2 separate regions of the Homo sapiens genome follow, and region 1 is linked to region 2. Evidence: promoter capture Hi-C in 16 types of primary human blood cells and fetal thymus (Javierre and others, 2016). All regions are on one chromosome and are shown on one strand. Each heading gives the region's core, a stretch centred on a gene start or on the middle of the fragment in contact. The rest is flanking DNA. Distances are from core to core; before and after follow the strand shown.

What was found. Contacts are between HindIII fragments. The CHiCAGO score rates a contact against its expected background, and 5 or more counts as called.
Region 1: a fragment that was not itself captured here is called in contact with the fragment with the promoter of ACSM1 in region 2 in 3 of 17 cell types (M1 macrophages, endothelial precursors and naive B cells); the score reaches 6.0 in M1 macrophages.

What each region holds. Positions count from the first base shown.
Region 1 is chr16:20,388,600-20,393,835 of GRCh38, reverse strand. The region is part of intron 2 of PDILT (protein disulfide isomerase like, testis expressed); the gene reads left to right. Among named protein-coding and RNA genes, the nearest start is that of PDILT, 14 kb to the left of the region's middle. The HindIII fragment of the contact is 1,753 bases long and covers 1,307-3,059 here.
Region 2 is chr16:20,695,155-20,700,166 of GRCh38, reverse strand. ACSM1 (acyl-CoA synthetase medium chain family member 1) reads left to right here and starts at 2,487. Exons shown (of 14, transcript NM_001318890.3): 1 at 2,487-2,531. It also overlaps a transcript of ACSM3 not described here. The HindIII fragment of the contact is 2,330 bases long and covers 1,067-3,396 here.

The sequences.
Region 1 (5,236 bases), core at 934-3,433, 310 kb after region 2:
GAAGCTGAGTTGTGATTTTTCCTTGTGGTCAGAGAACATGCTTATCAATTTGCCATATTCCTATCCAGCCAACCTCACACTGTCACACTCTCTGCTTTACCCCCATGACATTTGAGTCTATGTCCCCTGCCAGAAATTCGGTCTTCCAAAGCTCCTTCCTCAATCCTTGTCCTTCTCATTTGAGGTATACTCTGTGAGTGGTGCCACTTAAATGAGGAAATTTGGGGATATGGGAGCATCAACAACTCAGCCCCCCTGAGTCCTGGTGCCTCCCCTGCTAGGTTATGCTGCCACTTCATAGAAGCATGAATCACCTTCTTTTTCTACCGTTAACATTTATAGTTCCCACAAGGAATGTCCAATTGGGTCATTTTTGCCTCCATCCAATATTGAACATGCGTGTTGCTTGAAGTTTCATCAATGTAGTTCCAAGCTTGTGACCTCCCTCTAACTCAGGCTGTTCTTCAGGATGCCAGCTTGATTTTACTTCAAAGCCCTTCGAGCAATACCTTGTAAGAGAAATCCAGCCTAGGCCATTTTCTTTACATGAGCCTGTGAGCACGGCAGGCATTTCCACTTTGCTGAAAGACTCCTCCAGCTAGTTCTGCACATCCCTCATCCACACTAGAATTCAGGCCAGCACTTGTGCATCTATTTCATGGTGACTTTTACAGGGAGGAGCAGAGAAACTTGCAGTCTCACTCCACTTGCTGTGGAATTGGTAAACTAATGGTTTACATAGATAAAACATCCAAACCATCTCTTTTGCTGCAGCCCTAATTTCTAATCTGAGACCCTCAATGGAGGTGTTAAAAGGCTTAGAGCCATACATTTACACAAACACATAACACACCTCAACACATTCCCCTTCCAAAAATGGTGCAGTGGATGGATAAGGCTGGGAAACCTGTCCAGTCCACATGAGAATAGAAGGCTCTGCTCTGTTTTAACCAGGGCAGAAGGGTGAGTTCATGGTTCTTTAATTCTTATGACTTAAGAACTGACACTAAATCTGAGGCTACAGAGGGAACCAATCAATTTCACATTCTTGAATTGCATTTGACACAACCAACATGCATACTTTAAACCTAAAGCCTTTCCACTAGCAGGTATTTCAAAGCAGTGAACTCAACAACAGCAGAAATTTTCTTATCTAAAAGGGACACTCAATTAATCTCATTACATTTGCATCTTTGATTCCTGCCAATACATAATTAAATTCAAAATGAGTTCTTAAAAAAACTAGCCGGCCTTCTAAAGTGGCCTTTGGAAAAACAAATCACTTGGGGAAAGCACTATGAAAGCTTTCTTCAAGGGTAAATGGGCTCTTTGCAAAAGAGATTATTTTCAGACACTGCCCCCAGGGACCACCCCAGTCTCAGATCCTTAATGGGTGACCAGCTTTCTCTTCTCTCTGAGAACTCCAGGCCAAGAGCCAGTGGTTGGGGGAGCTTTCCTCTCAATGTTCTTTGCAGTCCCACATTGTCCACATGTGGACATTGCCACATGTCCACGACAGACCTCAGCATCTTTGATTTGGTCCCAACAATCTGCTGCTCCTTATGTCCTGCCTTCACTGAAAGTACCACCATCCACTCAGTATCAAAGTCAGAAACCTCAAGGTTGTTCTTGATTCTTCTACTCTCACATGTAATCCATCACCACGTCCTGTGGATGCCACTTTCTAAATCCCTTTGCAATCTCTGTTCTCCCCATCCCACCACCACTGCCTTGGTTCAGGCCTCATTATTCCTCACCTGAACCACTGCAGCAGCCTCTGAGATGGTCTCCCTGCCTTCTCCAATGCTGTCCTGCAATGCATCCAGAGAGACTTCCTCTAAAATGCAAATCTGATCAGGTCATTCAGTAGCTAAGGTCTTCTGCTTGATCTAGCCCACAGCTACAGCCTCTGGGCCTTTGCACTTGCAGCTTCCATAGTATCCTTCCTACACTCCTTCACCTGGATTGTGAAGTTTATGCCCCTCATTGGTAGGCTGTACCCACCTTCACTCCCACTTAGTCTGGCTGGGAGGCCTTCCTATGCTCCCACTGCCTTCTTTTTAACCTCTCTCTCTCAGCATTCGCTATATGGTATCAAAACTGCTTTTCATCGTGTACATTGCATGATGTTGGGGGCCAAATCTTATTCATCTCCTGATTCCTAACATTCAGCATTGTGCTTGGAGCATGGTAGGCTTCCATAGATGTTAAATGAATGAATAGATGAATGAATGAGATTTCCTTTGGCCCATAATTTTCTCCATCCACATTAACTTGAATGAATCAAGGAGAGAAGGACTCACTACCATTAGTGGAGAGAGGTCAAGATAAGATTAGGAGCTGTCTAGGGTCCTTTATCACTTGTCCCTAAGGCAGAGGTGACAAGATTCTGTCCTAGGAGTAGGTTAGATGATGATGGTGAGCATGATGTGGAGACGGTAATGTGGATGGAATAATGATGAAGATGATGATGATGATGACAATGGTGATGATGGTGATGGTAATGATTATTAATTATAGTGGTGATGATGACAATGGCGATGATGGTGCTAATGATGATGATGATTAACTATGGTGATGATGACAATTTCGATGATGGTGCTGGTGATGACGATTATGATGATGATGACAATGGTGATGATGGTACTGGTGATCATGATTATTAACTATGGTGATGATGATGACAATGGCGATGATGGTGCTGGTGATAATTGTTATGATGGTGATGATGACAATGGCAATGATGGTACTGGTAATAATGATTATTAACTATGCTGATGATAATGACAATGGTGATGATGGTGCTGGTGACGATGATTGTTATGGTGATGGTGATGACAGTGGTGATGATGGTGCTGGTGATGATGGTTATGGTGATGATAATGACAACAATGGTGATGATAACAAAGGCCATTTATCAAGCACCTGTGTTTCAGGCACGGCACTTGAAAACCTTGTCCCCATCTTGTATATGAAGCACGTAGGTGTCAGAAAGGTTAGATCATTTGCCCAAGGTCACACAACTGGTAAGTGGTGAAGACTGGATTTGAGACCAAGCTTGACACCAAAACTGGTGCTAAATTCATCTTCTTGCACTGTGCTGATCATTGGAAACTTCATTCCTTCAGTATTTATTGAATACGGTTATTTCCCAGATATATTGTAGGCACTGAGGATATAGTGGTGAACAAAACAGGTGATCATCCTTGCCCTCCTGGAACTGACATCCTAGTGAGAGAAGACAAAAGAAAAATAAGTAAAATATATAGTATTTCCTACGGTTAAAAGTACTATGGAGAAAAATACACAAGAGTGATAGGGAATGCATGGGGTGGATGGAGATGGGGCTGTAGTATTAAATAGGATGGCCAGGGACAGCCTCCCTGGAAAGGTAACACTTTAGCAAAGATCTTAAGGTGGTGAGGCAGTGATCCATGCAGATTTAGGGCAGAAGGAACAGAGAGTAAAAATACCCTGGGGTGAGGGAGATTGTGCCCATTTGGCTAAAGATATAGGGTTTCTGAAGAGAAGAGGACTAAGAAATGAGGCCAGAAAAATAGGGAGGTACAGATCTTTTAAAAACTTAAAGGCCATTGCAATGGTCAAAACAAATTGGTGGCTGGCCCCTGAGAAACAAGAAGAGATTGATGACAATCCTGAAGTCCCTATCAGCTGTGAGTACCTCTGTATACTGTACATGGCCCTATGGAATGGGCAGAGGGTTATTCTCAGAATATTTTTTTCATGCTTGATCAGAAGTTGGATCTAAAGTAGGGTTTCTTATCCTAAGCCCTACGGACATTTGACTAGATAATTCTTTGCTTGTGGGGCTGGGGGCTGTCCTGAGCATTGTAGAATGTTTAGCAGTATCCCTGGCCTCTACCCACTAAATGCCAGTAGCATCTCTTTTTCCAACTGTGACAACCAAAAATGCCTCCAGACCTTGCAAAACGTCCGACATTGAGAACCACTGGTCTAAAGAAAGGCAGACTCAACTTCCTTGTGCTGGGATCAAACTCCAGTCCCTATACTCATCACCTCCCCATCACCCATCAGCCCCTCCTCTGACTCACATTCACTGCTCAGAGAAGGAAACCTGGGGTTTTCTACTAAAGACCAGGCAAACGTTAATTCTAGGTCCATCAGCCATTAACACATCTACACACCAAGCAGACAGTCAGGGAGCCATTGCCTATTCTAACATGGCCCTGAGTCCCGTGTGCTTACCCTGAAACCCATGTGAGAGCTCCATAATAGGCCTAGAACTTGTGGTGGATGGTTTGGTGATGGTCACTGTTGTTCCCTTTCATCAGTAGCCGGAAGATCTTTGGGGTTCCTGACATTGCCATGGGACCCTCCCTTCCCAGAGAGAATCTGGTCAGAGCAAGACCAAAGAGTCTCCACCTATGTCATCAAAATAGCTAATGTTTATTTGTACCAAAGTTTTGCACACCTTGTCTTATTTTGTAGGATCACTCTGAGACGTAGGATCTATTAATAACCCCACTTTTTATGAATGAGGAAACTGAGTCACAGAGACTTAAAAAAATAAAAACAACTTTCCTGGGCCACAAGGAAAGTAAACCACCATAACTGCCTCTTTTTGATGAGATAGCCTAAGGAATTCACATTCATTGAGCATCTAGTATATGGCAGACAATGAGCTAGGGCCTGAGAGAAGTTGGGTCCATGGGCACCCTTGGCCTCTGCCTATCTACAGCCCACTGGGCACTGCTCAGCCTAAGTGCCAATATACACGTGAATTGTCTCCATACCTGGCCAAACTGGCATTTCCAGTTGACCAGGGCAGAATGTAAATGCTGAGACCTGAGGAGTGTATGCATTCATTTCACACCTACAAACTTGGAATTCAAGGTTCCAGAGCCCAGAAGGAAAACCAATTTGCAATTTTTTTTTTTTTTTGAGATGAAGTTTTGCTCTTGTTGCCCAGGCTGAAATACAATGGTGCAATCTTGGCTCACCGCAACCTCCACCTCCCAGGTTCCAGCGATTCTCCTGCCTCAGCCTCCCAAGTAGCTGGGATTACAGGCGTGTGCCACCACGCCAGGCTAATTTTGTATTTTTTGTAGAGACGGGGTTTCTCCATGTTGGTCAGGCTGGTCTCAAACTCCTGACCTCAGGTGGTCTGCCCACCTTGGCTTCCCAAAGTGCTGGGATTACAGGCGTGGAGTCACCACGCCTGGCCCAATTTACAAAATTTTTAAAGAAAGAAGCC
Region 2 (5,012 bases), core at 1,238-3,737:
GCTGAGGTTGGTAGGATATTTAGCTACATGAAGTCACTCAGAGAACAAGGCTGATAGAGACTTTGCCATTTTACGATGTCACTATCTCCATATATGGTTTCCAGGAGCATTGAATCAGGGGAAGAGAGTACAGAAAACTCATACCTGCTCTTAAATAAATGCCCTAGGCCAGAAGTGACTTGTAACACTTCCACATGGAGTTTATTGTTCAGAACTAGAGTTTAATGGCCTCACTTTAGCTTTAAGAGAGGTTGGGAAATGAAAGAGGAGCACACATAGAATGTTTGGAGAGTTTTCCTTTGTCCGCTGTATACCTCTTGTTAAAGATGAGAAAATTGAGGAAAAGAGGGATAAGAAATCTGCTCAATGTCACAGAGCTGGTAACTGGTAAAAGCTAGACTCAAGCCCAGGCTGCCTGGTGCCAGAGCCTGTCTTCTTGTCCATGCCTTCATGTTGCAGTTCCACAGGGGAGAACTACTCAGATGCAGAGAGTGTGTCAAGGGCTTTTCCCCCGTCTCCATTCTTTTCCGAAAAGTGGCTGCTCCTTCTCTTTAGTAACAGAGGTTTTTTGGTTAGTTGTTTTGTTTGTTCGTTTCTTTGTTTTTTGGTACTTTGATGCTTTGGGTGTTTAAGGTTTAGCTTACCATGGCCAGTCAACTAGCCCTGCCTTCTCACCTCTCCAGTGACTGGCCACAGAAAGCTAAATATTAAAAACCCAAACTATCCTAGCTTGCCACACGGTCCTGTCAGGAATGTCCTGGGTGTCTCCAGAAATCTTTAGCCATGACTTTGATCAGAAATAATTTCTTCCCAGCTTCAATGAAAATACTGGAGATCCCTCATTCTCTAACAATGCCCCAAAAATGGCTCCAGTAGAAAAGTCATAGTACAAGCCGCTACCTATGACTACCTTGGTTTATCCAATGCAATATCACTATCAACCCTCCATCTAAATGCCTGGTCCAGGTGCTTTACAGGCTTGGTGTCACATAATCCTTTCAATGATCCCATGCAACAAATCTTATTAACAAATCCTGCTTCATTTTACAAATGTCAAGACCAAGCTTTGAAAGGAAAATGGTTCACCCAAGAGCTTTCTTGTGAGTGCCTGAGGTTGGACTTAATTAAGCTCAAGACTTTGGGATTCCAAAGACCCTGCATTTTACCAGGATACCAAATTGTTCCTCTGAGAATCCCAAGTGAATAAAAAGAGCCAACATCGACTATGCCCAGCACCGTGTGCTACATGCTTTTTATAAATTATTTCATCTAGTTCTAACAAACAAATGAAGAAGCAAAGAAAACACCCTGGGAGGTAGGTATTGTTGTTATCATTCCTATTTTACAAATAAGGTAGGTGTTGGGTGCTGTGGCTCATGCCTGTAATCCCAGCACTTTAGGAGGCTGAGGCGGGCAGATCACCTGAGGTCAAGAGCTCAAGACCACCCTGGCCAACATGATGAAACCCTGTCTCTATTAAAAATACAAAAATTAACTGGGTGTGGTGGCGGGCACCTATAATCCCAGCTACTTGGGAGGCTGAGGCAAGAGACTCAATTAAACCTGGGAGGCGGAGGTTGCAGTGAGCCAAGACCATGCCATTGCATTCCAGCCTGGGTGACAGCATGAGATTCTGTCTCAAAAGCAACCGAAAACCAATTAAGGGAGGTGAGGCCCAGAGCAAGAAGGTCCACAAAGATGACATGGAGGTTAAGTGGCAGACCTAAGGCTCAAACTCAGACCTTTCTGCCTCCAGACCTCCAGAGCCCAGGCTCTTATCCATTAGGCTACACTGACTCTCAGCTGTCATTTAAGGGAGACTATGGTGATGTAGGGCTGGGAAGGGGGAGCAGGTTAGCCACAGAGAACTAGTGAAAATGCACCATTGGATCTAGTTCATTCACACCCCTAGCCATGCCACCGGAATTGGAGGTGACTTCGTATACGTGGTTTGTTTTTCTTTTTTTTTTTTTTTTTGAGACAGAGTCTCTGTCTCCCAGGCTGGAGTGCAGTGGCATGATCTCGGCTCACTGCAAGCTCCGCCTCCCGTGTTCACGCCATTCTCCTGCCTCAGCCTCCCGAGTAGCTGGGACTACAGGCGCCCACCACCACACCCGGCTAATTTTTTGTATTTTTAGTAGAGACGGGGTTTCACCGTGTTAGCCAGGATGGTCTCCATCTCCTGACCTCGTGATCCGCCCGCCTCGGCCTCCCAATGTGCTGGGATTACAGGCGCGAGCCACTGCGCCCGGCCCACATGGTTTGTTTTCTAAGTGATTATCTCTCCGTGGAGGCCTGTAATTGTTTCTGTCCTATTTTACCTGAGCATCTCCTCCCCCTACTGAATTACCCAATTCCTAACAAGTTCTCTGTTCAAGGTCCCCCTTCGCTGTGGCCAGAAGCCAAGTTCTGCTGGGTGCACAATCCTGCGGATCACCTGATCAGAGAGAACTGAACCTACAAAAGAGAGCTCAACCTCCTTTTCCATACCTACCAGGGACCTAGTTCAGCTACGTCCTAAACAGTACCAGGTAAGACAGAGGTGAAGGTCAGCTTCTATCTGTGTGTGTGTGTGTGTGTGTGTGTGTGTGTGTGTGTGTGTGTGTGTGTAATCCAATTTTAAGTTCTGGCAATGCTACTTTTAAGTTGAGTGACCTTGGGCAAGTCACTTAACTTCTTGGCACTTCATTTTAGAGGCAAAATGACAATGGTGATATTGGGTGAGAGGAATAAATAGGAACGTACATGTAATATGTTTAGCACAGTGGCTGGCATGTAAATGGGGACTGGTTTAGTGTCAGGCAGCTCTGAATGTGGTGAGCCGTGGGAGACAGGCACAAAGTCAGAGATGAATGTTTGAAGGAAATCTTTTCTATCTATGCAGAAGTTGGCTCACTTTCTATAAAGTGAATGCCTTCTAAAAAAAATTATCCAAGCATAGTAATACATGCCTGTGGTCCCAGGTACTTGAAAGGCTGAGGCAGGAGGATGACTGTAGCCCAGGAGATTGAGGCTGCAGTGAGCTATGATCACACCACTGCACTCCAGTCCAGGTGACAGTTTCAAAAAAAATGGTTAACATCTAATGGGGAGGGGGTTGGCTTCAGAATTTGCTGGGAGTTAAAAGGTACCTCAACATTTATTGAGTCCTTACCGTGCACTTCATTCAGTGCCAGCAAGTAAATTATCACACTAATCCTTATGGGGAGCTGGGAAGAAGGTATTACTACTGTGCGCTTAAGTTCAGAGACATGAACAGCACCAAAGACCCAGCTGCTAGACAACAGAGACAAACATCTAGCCCTGGCTCTGTAACTCTGGGATACCCTATAACACAGTAAGTATGTTGCTTCATTAAATAGCTTTATCAGTCCCAAGTCCTGTGAAGTCAAAGCTTAGTTGCAGGAGCTGTTCAAGGCACTATGTATCTGGGAATACAGTGGGGAGCCCAGCTGCCTCTCAAAGCTACCATGTCAAATTGCTTTCAGAATGCACTTTAAGCAGTTCAGAAAATTGTTCTTTAAAATGATTTCATAGGATGTGCTTTAATGATATGCTCTAACAGGGTAGGAACTCTTTCAGTTTAATTAATCTCCAATAGTATCTAAAACTGTACATGGTACATCTATAGTAAATACTTGAGAAAGAAAAAATACATTTTTCTATAACTCAGATAATTTGTGGGCACACTGGCTTTTCTCTTTCTGACTTTCATCACTCAGTTTTCTGAATTATGACAAAGAAGGGAAGAATCTAACTTTTTGTTGAGCACTTACTATGTCCAGCACGGTGAGAAATAGACAAACTAAGCTTTGTGAAGTCAAATCTGAAGACAGATGTGGATGGAAATAGATATCGAAACAGAGACAGAGACGGAGATAGAGATAGAGACAGAGATAGTGATAGAGATAGAGACATGCATCACTTAACAACCAAGATACGTCTGAGAAATGCATTGTTAGGTGATTTTGTTATTATGGGAACTCATAGAGTGTACTTACACAAACCCACAAAGCATAGTCTTCTACACATATAGGCGATATGCTATAGCCCATTGCTTCTAGGCTACAAACCTATGTAGCTTGTTGCTGTATTAAATACTGTAGGCAGTCATGACACGATGGTAAGTACTTGTGTATTGAAACATAGAAAAGGTACAGTAGAAATATGTCATTATAATTGTATGGGCCACTCTGTATATGTGATCCATCACTGACAATGACATCATATTGTGGCACATGACTACAGTGTACATGTGTTATTGTTATAGACATTAATATTAATGTATAGATATACACAGATAGTGATATAGGTATAAATGTAAATATTGGTATATAGATACAGAAATAGATTTAGAAATGAAGCTTAACATACATACAGAGATAGAGATAGACGCAGACATAGACATATAGATATCTGATTTTCAGTCCTCAACACTTGGAGATCAGGTTCTTATATATCTAGATAGATAGATAGATAGATAGATGATAGATAGATAGAAAATAGGTAATAGGTAGATAGATAGACGATAGATACATAATAGATAGGTAATAGATAGATAAATAGATGATAGATAGATAATAGATAGGTAATAGATAGATAGATAGATAGACAGATAATCAGTGAAAAAGCTGGACATATACCAGTCCTATGGTGTCTATGTTCAGGTATTCATCCCCATTCCTTCTCTTTAGACCTTAACTCCAAAAGTTAAGGAAATTTTTTTCCTCTGGCTTAACTACTCTATAAGAGCTTCCCTATAAAGTGTGTTAACTAGCAACAGCTCTTATTTCTAAAATACTTGTCCGTGCTGAATGCTTTTTGCAGGATATCGTGCATTTATCACCATGGCTTCAGGCAATAGGTGCTGCCAATATGCCTATGTTTTTATAGGGAGGTTAAATAAATTGCCCCAAGTTATGTGGGTGGGAAATGAAAGTGCTGGAATTTGAGCCCGTGTTGTTTGATCTCTAGGGCCATGCTGTTTCAGCTACCACAGTTCTCCACAGCTG